3 separate regions of the Homo sapiens genome follow, and regions 1 and 3 are each linked to region 2. Evidence: promoter capture Hi-C in human tissues and cell types (Jung and others, 2019). All regions are on one chromosome and are shown on one strand. Each heading gives the region's core, a stretch centred on a gene start or on the middle of the fragment in contact. The rest is flanking DNA. Distances are from core to core; before and after follow the strand shown.

Evidence for each region. Contacts are between HindIII fragments. The study calls those that stand out against the background at their distance.
Region 1: a fragment that was not itself captured here is called in contact with the fragment with the promoter of DBNDD2 in region 2 in 1 of the 25 tissues and cell types used here (spleen).
Region 3: a fragment that was not itself captured here is called in contact with the fragment with the promoter of DBNDD2 in region 2 in 1 of the 25 tissues and cell types used here (aorta).

What each region holds. Positions count from the first base shown.
Region 1 is chr20:46,392,493-46,395,663 of GRCh38, forward strand. It overlaps ELMO2 (engulfment and cell motility 2), which reads right to left. Exons shown (of 22, transcript NM_133171.5): 3 at 1,913-2,040; 4 at 1,557-1,597; 5 at 1,037-1,109; 6 at 601-651. The coding sequence starts at 1,990. It overlaps LOC124904917 (a long non-coding RNA gene), which reads left to right. Exons shown (of 3, transcript XR_007067614.1): 3 at 749-3,171. Among named protein-coding and RNA genes, the nearest start is that of ELMO2, 13 kb to the right of the region's middle. RefSeq lists an enhancer at 1,742-2,241. The HindIII fragment of the contact is 3,871 bases long and covers 1-3,171 here.
Region 2 is chr20:45,406,765-45,409,921 of GRCh38, forward strand. It overlaps DBNDD2 (dysbindin domain containing 2), which reads left to right and starts at 1,525. Exons shown (of 3, transcript NM_001048225.4): 1 at 1,525-1,842; 2 at 2,037-2,174. The coding sequence starts at 1,704. It overlaps SYS1-DBNDD2 (SYS1-DBNDD2 readthrough (NMD candidate)), which reads left to right. Exons shown (of 6, transcript NR_003189.2): 4 at 1,696-1,842; 5 at 2,037-2,174. LOC107985404 (a long non-coding RNA gene) reads right to left here and starts at 1,125. Exons shown (of 5, transcript XR_007067608.1): 1 at 985-1,125. RefSeq lists an enhancer at 113-662. The HindIII fragment of the contact is 23,713 bases long and covers 1-3,157 here.
Region 3 is chr20:46,355,601-46,358,507 of GRCh38, forward strand. SLC35H1 (solute carrier family 35 member H1) reads right to left here. Exons shown (of 10, transcript NM_015945.12): 2 at 2,787-2,907; 3 at 2,023-2,173; 4 at 974-1,037; 5 at 202-274. The coding sequence starts at 2,906. Among named protein-coding and RNA genes, the nearest start is that of SLC35H1, 7.4 kb to the right of the region's middle. RefSeq lists an enhancer at 950-1,449. The HindIII fragment of the contact is 7,023 bases long and covers 1-2,907 here.

The DNA.
Region 1 (3,171 bases), core at 345-2,844, 990 kb after region 2:
GATCTTTCTAAAACTTAAAATCTAAACATAACATATCTTCCTGCTTAAAATTCTTCAATGTCCCCAGTTTCCTTCTGGACAGAGTTGAAACCTACGAGTAGGCCATCAAGGAACCTTGAATATCTGGCTTCTCAATGACTGCTACAAGCCTCCAGCCACCCAGCACTCCTGCTTTTCCCAAACACAGCATACCTCTGTGCCTTGGCATATGCTGATTTCTCTGACTGGAATACTTTTCCTTTTCTTATTTCTCTAGCTAATTCTTGCTCATCCTTTAACATCTGAGCTAAGTGACGCCTTCTCTGGCAAGACTTTCTGGAAATCTCCAGGCTGAGTTAGGTGGTCCCCTTTGTGAGTTCCCACAGCTCCCTAAGCAACTTTCTCTCAAGACCCTTGAGACAGGCCTTCTATTGCATTTGTTTACTCCCCACTAGGTGGTGAGAACCAAGACAGACTTATTTTCCTGTACTATTTCCTGATACAAAAAGACTGACTTTCTTATCTCCAGAGTACTTATTTCTAGAACAGAGTCTGGCCCATGGTAGGTGCTCATATTTGTTTGTGACATGAATAAACTCCTAAGGAAGAAAGAATACCTACCGGGGAGATAGCCAGTTGTAAGATTGTCCCATTCTTAATGTCACTGCGAGTCTGGGTAGTGAAAAATAAACAAAAAAAGTAACTAAGATAAAATGTTAAAGTGGTACAAGCAAGTTGAATCAACAATAATGTTTTGTCTTTTTTACAGTAGATGTAACTGAGGATCTTCAGTCGGGCCCTCTTCTCCTGCTTATTCCTTGGCAAAGAATTTCTAAGATCCTCCTCTAGCACCCTGGGCACTCAGGAAGTAAAAGCCACCTTTTTCTAGCCACTAGGGAAGAACAAGGGCTGGTGTTTCCCAGTCTGTCCGGAGAGTGACTCTTTACCCAACACATGGAAGCTACCTGGATGCTGAGTGAAGATAAATAGTGCCGTCTCCTTGGGTCGTTTAATTCCAAGCAAGGCCCATATTGATTTTGCCTCTCCCTGTACTAACCTGTTCGGTGATGTACAGCTGAGGACCATCTGCATAACGGAGGGTATAATACTCTGGGTTTGGCAACGACCACCTATGCAAGAGAAAAACAGTATATCCCACTTGGCCACTCTCTTGTTCAGAAGCTGCTCATAAGTAATTTTCAAAAGAGTTGCTCAAGGGATTGGGTGGCCTATTTGGAATACAGTGGAAACAAAGCTTTAGGTTGTCATGTTGAAAAAATCATGGCCTCAGCCTTTTGTAAAGATGAGCACCACAATAGGAGGTGTGCAGAACTGAGGAGGGGTCTCAGATCCTACCTCAATAGGGCAATGCTAGACTTTAAGGAAAAAATTAAGAAGTATAAACGTCTTAGGGGTATGGTTGTCAACTGTACTTCCTTCCCAAGACAATGATTCCCAAGACCCCCATGCTGAGGACCTGCCTAACTGGAGATCCTTCCCAGAACTCCCCTCAAGGTGTAGGAGTGCTCTTTCAGTCGGAGCTGCCACTGTTGAAAACGAGGTCCATTTCAACCTACCCATCACAAACTTCCTTGATAATGGATGCCAGGGGCCGTTTCTGAAAGAGAGAGAGAGAAAGCCTTCAACAGCAGCAACATCCTACTCATGCCAAGGTTCTGACAAGAGGCCTGCCAAGCAGGGTCAAGCTGGGGCATGAGAATGAACTTCTTTCCTAACAGCTTTTGTTGAAGAGGAAGCCTCTCCCAAGCCATGGTGACCGACCTTCCCTAGGGTGGGCCAGGCCCAAAGCTTAGCCTTCCTGTTGCTCGTTCTTACTCTTGATGCCGGTGGTCCCCATCCCTCAAGATGTCCTCTGCCATGCACTCCCCAGGTGCCTTTCCTTGAACCACTGCTTCTCACTTCAGGAGCATACCTGGTCGATTTCAAGGAGCTGGGCGTTAGCACCTGGCCACTCAATGGCCACTTTGACAATGTCTGACGGTGGTGGCATCGTTCCCAATGGGCTCTAATTCTGCGAGACAAAAACACAGACACGGCTGCCTGGGGAGAAAGAATCAGAAAGGTGGAAAAAGAGTATTTCTTCATTTTTCACTCTTGTTACATGTTTTGAAGAGTTTGAAGACAGACACTGCATAAAGTAACACATGAAACTACCTGGTTTGAATTTTTCTAGATCATACCACAACTTCTGCTTAGGATTTTGTCTCTTGAGATTAAATCAGCAAGAAGAAATGGGACAAACTATCTATCATCCATAGATCAGCCAGTAGCAAGATATGCCAATGTGGCACTTCAGTTTAAGAGTCAAGAAGACTCAGTGGTAGAGGAATGTATTTACTGCAAATTCCTGTCTTGAGACCTTGGGAGGAGAGAAGCATATGCTCCGAGACAGATAAGAATAGACAGCCTTTTCTTGGTTGAGTGGTTAGCTGGAGGAGCCAGGCTACTTCTTTCTGCAGTCATCCTAGGAAGATCCCAGCATCAGCAGGGCCCAGCTACATGCTCTCTTGCTTCCTCCCCACTCATCGATGCCACCCCTTTCCCCTCAAAGGACACAATGCAAAGCCTCCTCTGTGTGGGACGACATCAGAAAATGGGGAAGATAACTGGGACAGGAAATGCTATTTTCGTCCCTACTGCCAAGGGCAAGGGCGGCTGACAACTCAAGTGGAGAGAGGTAAGGATATCCTCACACAAGGGCCCCTCTTATAAGGACAAGGCTTTGCAAGTACCTCTGACCCCCTCCCCCACTTCTCTCCAAAATAAAGGAAAATAAATCATCCTGAGCAAGTCTGGAAGATGGGCCCATGTGACTGGTATCCTAGGCAACTCTGATAGCTTACTGGTATTCCAAGCAGTAACTAAAGCATTCTCTCTCCAAGGTCTGACGAAGGGAAGTCACTTGGCTGATGGATTATTTCAATGTATATTTACACTCCTTGCCTACAAGTTCAGGAGAGGCCCCTCTCTTAATGAAAAAGACCTTTCTGCATCCTCCAGGTTTAGCCATTCACCCACAATTCATGCCTCGCTAATGGGGACCACCTGCCTCTCCTGGCGTACAAAGCATAGCTGTCGCGAGGCTATTATGCATGTATGCTATCAATTTTTCAGCCCAAACACAGATGTCAGTTCTCACAGCCTGGTAAGTATAAACCTCTTAGATGAAAA
Region 2 (3,157 bases), core at 275-2,774:
CGCGGTGGACCGCGGAGGGGACCGGAGCACGAGGGGAACGGCCTTGGGGGAGCGCCCTCCCCCCGTCCTCCGCCGACGCCTCGTGTCCCTTTTTAGGGAATTTTTTCCCTCTTGCTGGCTCCAGTGCGGGTGGGGCTGAGACCGAGAGGGAGTTCTCCATTTCGCTGGCTCCTGCCCGGCCCCTGGCAGCCTCCTGCCCCCAAATCTCTTCACCCCCTTTCCAGTACCTATAGGTCGCGTAAACAACTCCCTTTCTCCAGCTCTGGGCTCCGCGGCCCCCCGGGGGACAGCTCCTTCAGTCTCGTGAGATCGGTGGGGTTAGGGGGAGGGGAAAAGAGAGGGGGTGTCCCAGAGCCCCTGGCCCCCGTCAGCTCCCCCACCTTGGCCTCTCCCTCCCCCTCCTCGCTGCTGGAGCACAGGCTCCAGGGGCCCTGGGTATTTTTAGCGTTGTGACCTGGGCGGCAGCTCTAAGAGCCTTTCCCGGGAATCGGCGTCAGCGCCTCGCTCCTCCGCCGCCAGCCCGCGGCCGCACGGTCTCCCCAGACTTCCGTGGCCCTGCCTTGGCCAGTCGGGGTTGGGTCCCTCTCCACCTCTGTGGCGCCCGTGGAGCTGGCCAGGGTCTGGGATACGCTGGGTGCAGATGAGGTGGGGAAGGCAGTCTGCGGAGGATGACGTCTGATCCTCAAGCTAGAAACTCCCTTGCCTCTGGTGATGGGCTCAGAGCAGAACGCCGGGAAGGAGATGAGCGAATGGGAATGAATGCACCGACCTGGGCTGGCCCATAGCCTCAGTGCTCTGGCAGGGTCTCAGCTTCTCAGCCCTAGGGGTCAGGAGGCCTGCTCTGAACTGGACCCAGAACCCGCCTTTCCAATTGCTCCTCACTGACTAATGGGGAGATAAGTCAGTGAGATGTGTCCCAGGAGGGGGACGCATAAAGAGCTGTTGGAGTTCAAAGGAAAGATGGTAGTCTCCTAAATAGCTCACCTTCACAAGCAGGGTCTTGTATTTGAGGCAGGTAGGTTGGTTATGCCATTTTCAGATGGGGAGACTAAGACCAGAAAGGTGATTTCCTTAGGGGCAGAGCCTAGTCTGGAAGTCAGGCCTGTGACTTCAGAGCAAGGGTTTGGGGTAGATGGCACATGCGTGTGTACGTGTTTGTGTGGGTGGAGAGAAAAGGAGGGGCGCGGGAGGAGTTGCTTTAGCCTTTGTCTGGGTTTTGAAGGATGGGAAGGGGTGGGCTGCAGCACTGGAGGAAGGGAACCCTCCACCCTGAGATCTCTGTCTCTATCCTATCCTGTCCCTGGCCTTCTGAGGCAAGCGGGGCCAATTAAGGGGAAAACGTACCTCCTCCATTTGTGCTGAACCAATCCCTCCAACCCCTCTCAGGAGGGCATGATATGGAGAGTTGGGCATTGGCTGTGTTCCCTGAATACAGAGTATCTCTCTTGTGGTGCCTGGAACTGGCATCCCCTTTGTGGAGCTTAGGGCAAGCCCCGCCTCTGCATGAGACTTGGTTTGTGGGACACACTTGGTTTCAGGGAAGGGGAAAGAGGTCACCAAGGGCAGAGGTGTCCAGGCCGGAGCCAGGGGCCCCACTGTTGGGATGCTGGCTGCAGTGGGGCGCCCCAAGCCCAGGTCCCCTCTGTCTTCTCTTTCGACTTTGCAGCTGTACTTGTTTTGCTCCTCTACCCGCAGGAGCTGACATGGACCCAAATCCTCGGGCCGCCCTGGAGCGCCAGCAGCTCCGCCTTCGGGAGCGGCAAAAATTCTTCGAGGACATTTTACAGCCAGAGACAGAGTTTGTCTTTCCTCTGTCCCATCTGCATCTCGAGTCGCAGAGACGTAAGTCCCAAGTCCTGAGAAGAGGGACTGGGGTAGGGTAGGGAGGATGTCCTGTGGGTCCTGAATCTTGTGGCACTCTCTCCCCTCTGGTTTTCTTGGCCCTCTATGCTTCTAACTTGGGACCTGACATGTAACTCTCACTGTCCTGGTGTGCAGCTTGGGTCCTCCTGACTTGCCCACTTCTTGATCCGCAGCCCCCATAGGTAGTATCTCATCCATGGAAGTGAATGTGGACACACTGGAGCAAGTAGAACTTATTGACCTTGGGGACCCGGATGCAGCAGATGTGTTCTTGCCTTGCGAAGATCCTCCACCAACCCCCCAGTCGTCTGGTATGCCCCTCTGCTTTGGGGACTTCAGTGCCAGTCAGCCAGAGCCGGATGTCAGGCTCTGAAACGAGGCTACAAGGCTGGGCTGGGGAAGTACACAAGTAAGGGCTGGAAGTGGGTGTTTCTACCAATGAAACAGCTGCCTGTTCTGATTTTAGGGAAGTTGACCCTGAGGGAGAACTGGGTTACACATCTCTAATCCAAAATTCTGGGAACGGTCAATCTCTTCTTTAATTTTACATTTGTTATATTAATATAATTAGTCACTATAATTAAAATAATGTAAAATTGTAATTTTTATATTTGGCAACTTAAGTAGTTTTAGTCATTATAATGATATTAATATGTATTGAGTACTTTAGTAGGTTCCAATACTGTACTAAAGTACTTTACATATATTATCTCAATCCTTACAACGTCCTGTCAGGGTAGGTGATATAATCTCTATTTTATAAGCAGGAAATTAGGCTCAGAGAAGTTAAGTCACATTGTAGCCAGAAGGTAGATAAACTGGAATTCATGTCTGTCTGACTCCAAAGCCCATATGCTTAACTTGTAAGATAGATATTCTTTTAATTAAAACTGCTACTATTTATTGATGGCTTACTATGCCAGACATTTTATAAGCATTCTTAGGTTTTATTCCCAAAACCCTTTGGGGATGTAGGTATCCCTTTTATTTTGCAGAGGAGGAACAGAGTCCTTGAAAGGGAAAGTGACTTGCTCAAAGCCACTCAGCAGCAATAAGTGATGTAGGTGGAACTTGAACTCTTGCCATTCATTGACCTGACTGTAGATCCCAGACATGGTGTAATGACGTGGAAGGAGCTGGCAGTCAGGAGATGGTGATCTTAATCCTGGCTCTTTGCTGGATTGGCAAAGTCACTTTGGACAAGTCTCTGCCCCACTGTGGACTTTAGTTACTCCTGGCCAGATAATCTTTAAGAGTTCTCTGAAGCCCTGTTTGTGGCCTGACCAGCTTTTCT
Region 3 (2,907 bases), core at 408-2,907, 950 kb after region 2:
TTGGTCATTACCCTGCCACACTGGTTTCTAAATATTCTGAGTATTGCCCATGTCTAGGTCCCTTCTCAGAAAGGGATCTACTGCCACCTGGACTGGGCTTGTCTCCTCTGTCACACAGCAGGACAAGCCACTGCTCAGACTCCCACTTTATTCTTAGCATCTGTGGGGGCAGGAAGGACACAAGAGACGCTGGGGCCTCACCAGCTCCTCCAGCTTGAAGATCAGAGAGAAGATCAAGATGAAGAGGACAGCTGAGGATTTGGTCATTGTGTACCTGGAAGCAAAATTACCCACAATGCACTGCTGGAGCTCAGGGCTCAGACCCATCACCGAGAAAGGAGCAGGAGCACAAATCACTGAGCGAAATGACCAAACAGAGCTGGGCTGTCATCTGAGTGATAAGCGACCTTTAATCAGAAGGAATCTCTGACTAAGAGGCCTCTGGTTATCACCAGAGAGAAGAGGTTACAGGTCTGACGTTGAGCTCCCTGAGTCCTGTTCTTTACCTAACCCTCGGCAGAGCCCAGGAGCGGGAAGGAAGGATGAGAAGTAGGAGGACAAGAAGGCAGGAACAGTGCTCTCTGAAGCAAAACATCAGAGGGAAGAAGAAACTCTTGTGTAGCCCCCAGGCCACATAGGGCTCTGCTGCGGCTGCGTGTACCACCCACCAGTGGCCACCTGTCTGTGGCCTTGCAGCCTGCCTTCCCCTGCTCTGATGATGGGGTTCTGGGAGAGCTCCCTGGCTTCCCCACGCTGCCTGGCAGGTGGGCACAGCATCTCCTCTGCGCTGGGCTTACGGAAGAGGCTGGCGACTTCCCGGAGAGCTGCTGGGTGCCAGGGAGAGGCTGAGAGAGCAAGGGCTGGTCCCAGAGTGGTGGAGTGGCTGGCCTAGCAGCCGGGTGTGCAGACACCCCGCTGGACAGACAGACAGCTTCAGCCTGAAGGGAGGCAGCAGGGCATGGCCAGTACTCACAGCGAGACGGTGACATACAGGAAGCTCCAGTTGGACAAGCCCACGTCAAGCGCCGTCGCCAGAGCTGTGAAGACACAGGCACCCACAGGACAGCTTGGGAGGTCCACACTCTGCTGGGGTGGGCTGGTACCCTGAGGCACCTGAGTGTCCCCCACTTCTGAACCATCCCGGTGCCTCCTGTGGGGCCCTTGGGCCTTCTTTTCCACCAGCAACTAAAGGGTTAATATCTGGCCCCCAAAGGTCGGGGGCTGCTCTAGCATTAGGGCTGGGGCCCATTCCAACTGGCTGGGCCGGTATGGTTTCCACAAACACTCCGGCGAGCCCCCTGAGCGGAGGTATTAACCTGATCTGGTTGATCCCTTACTGGAAACCCTTTTCCCTCAGGATGGAACACAAACTCCTCCACGGGGAATCCGGCCTCCAGGACATGACCCCTGCCCACCCTCTCAGTTCTCATTTTTCCCACTTCCTCTGGCCAGCACCGGGTTCTCAGTATCCTGAAACACTTTGAGTTCCCTTCCAGACCCCACAGCTGGCACTAAATCTCCCTCGGGCCACGAGGGCCCCTCCTCCCAGGGCCAACCAGTCCCACGCATCCTTCAGGGCTCTGCCTACTTGGCACCTGGCCTAGGAAATCTTCCTCTACCAGCCATGGGCCCCGGCCTTGGGTTGGTCCCCTCCCTGGGCTCCGTAGTGCCCTCCATGTCCGTGTCACAGCCCTGCGAGGGCAGGGACCCTGCCTGCTCACCACTTATCTCCAGGCCTGAGGGCTGCACTCCAGGCTCGGTGTCTGCTGGCAGGAGAGGGAGCTGCGGGGCCGCAGGTGCAGGGGGGGTTTTGTGGGTGTGTGGTGGGGCAGTGGGAAGGCACGCAGTGCACAAGAGGCAGCAGCGTGGGTGGTGGGAGGCCAGGTCAAGAGGGCAGAGGAGGAACAGTGCAGGAAGAGGGGAGGGACTTGGCTTCCAGACATGCGGGTGTCTCTCTTGTTCTCATCCTATGGTTCCCCAGCCCCTCTTCCTGCTCTGCCCTCACTGAGGTCCCCCACCTACCTGTGGGAGCCACTCTTCTGAGGTAGTCGGCCCAGCTCAGCACCACACGGGCCCTGTGGCTGGAGCACTGAACCAGCGCCCTGGACAGGGCGGAGAAGAGGAAGATCACGGCCAGGTGCAGCATCGTCATGAAGAGGGGGAAATGGAAGCTCTGTATGGAGCCCAAAGCAGACACCCCGGCTTGGTTTAGACAGCCTGCCCCCCACCGGCTCCCTCTTCCTCTTCGCCCCTCTGCTGGAGTGGGGCTCATTCGGTGGTTCATGAGGACCTTGCTATGTGTGTAGGGCCCTTAGTTACGGTATCATCGCTTGGAATGACAGACTCTTAGGTCACGAAGACAGGTGGCAGCCAAGAGACTCAATCCTAGCCTGGTGCTGTCTCCACCATTTCAACACACCTGTGAGCTACCTGCCCAGCCTTCCTCACGGCCTATGCCCAAGTGAGAGCCACTGCGGCCCACTACGTTGTATCACTTATTAAAATATTGAAATACTTCTCTAGTGGGGTAAATAGCTGCTGCTTGAGCCCCAGTTTCCCCAGCTCATCCCTTCACACCCCCCGCTCTCCTTGGTTTCCCTGGATCCAAACACTGAAGGGGAACCCTGGCACGGCAGGCTTGGAGGGCCCTGTTCCAGCCCAGCCGTGACTGGCTTCCAGTTAGACTGGTTGAAGCTTGTGCCTTCCTGTTAAACATGAAGGGCACCGTAGCCATGGCTCTGGCCACCTTCATCCCAGCACCCCGCCCCAGCAAGGCCTCCTGGTACCTTTGTCAGCCACTTGTTGTAGAAGGTGATGCCGATGGAGAAGCAGTAGTAGAGAAGCACCAGCCCCAGGGTCAACACCGCCTTCCACAAAAAGGCCACATCGAGGGCCCACCTCCCCATT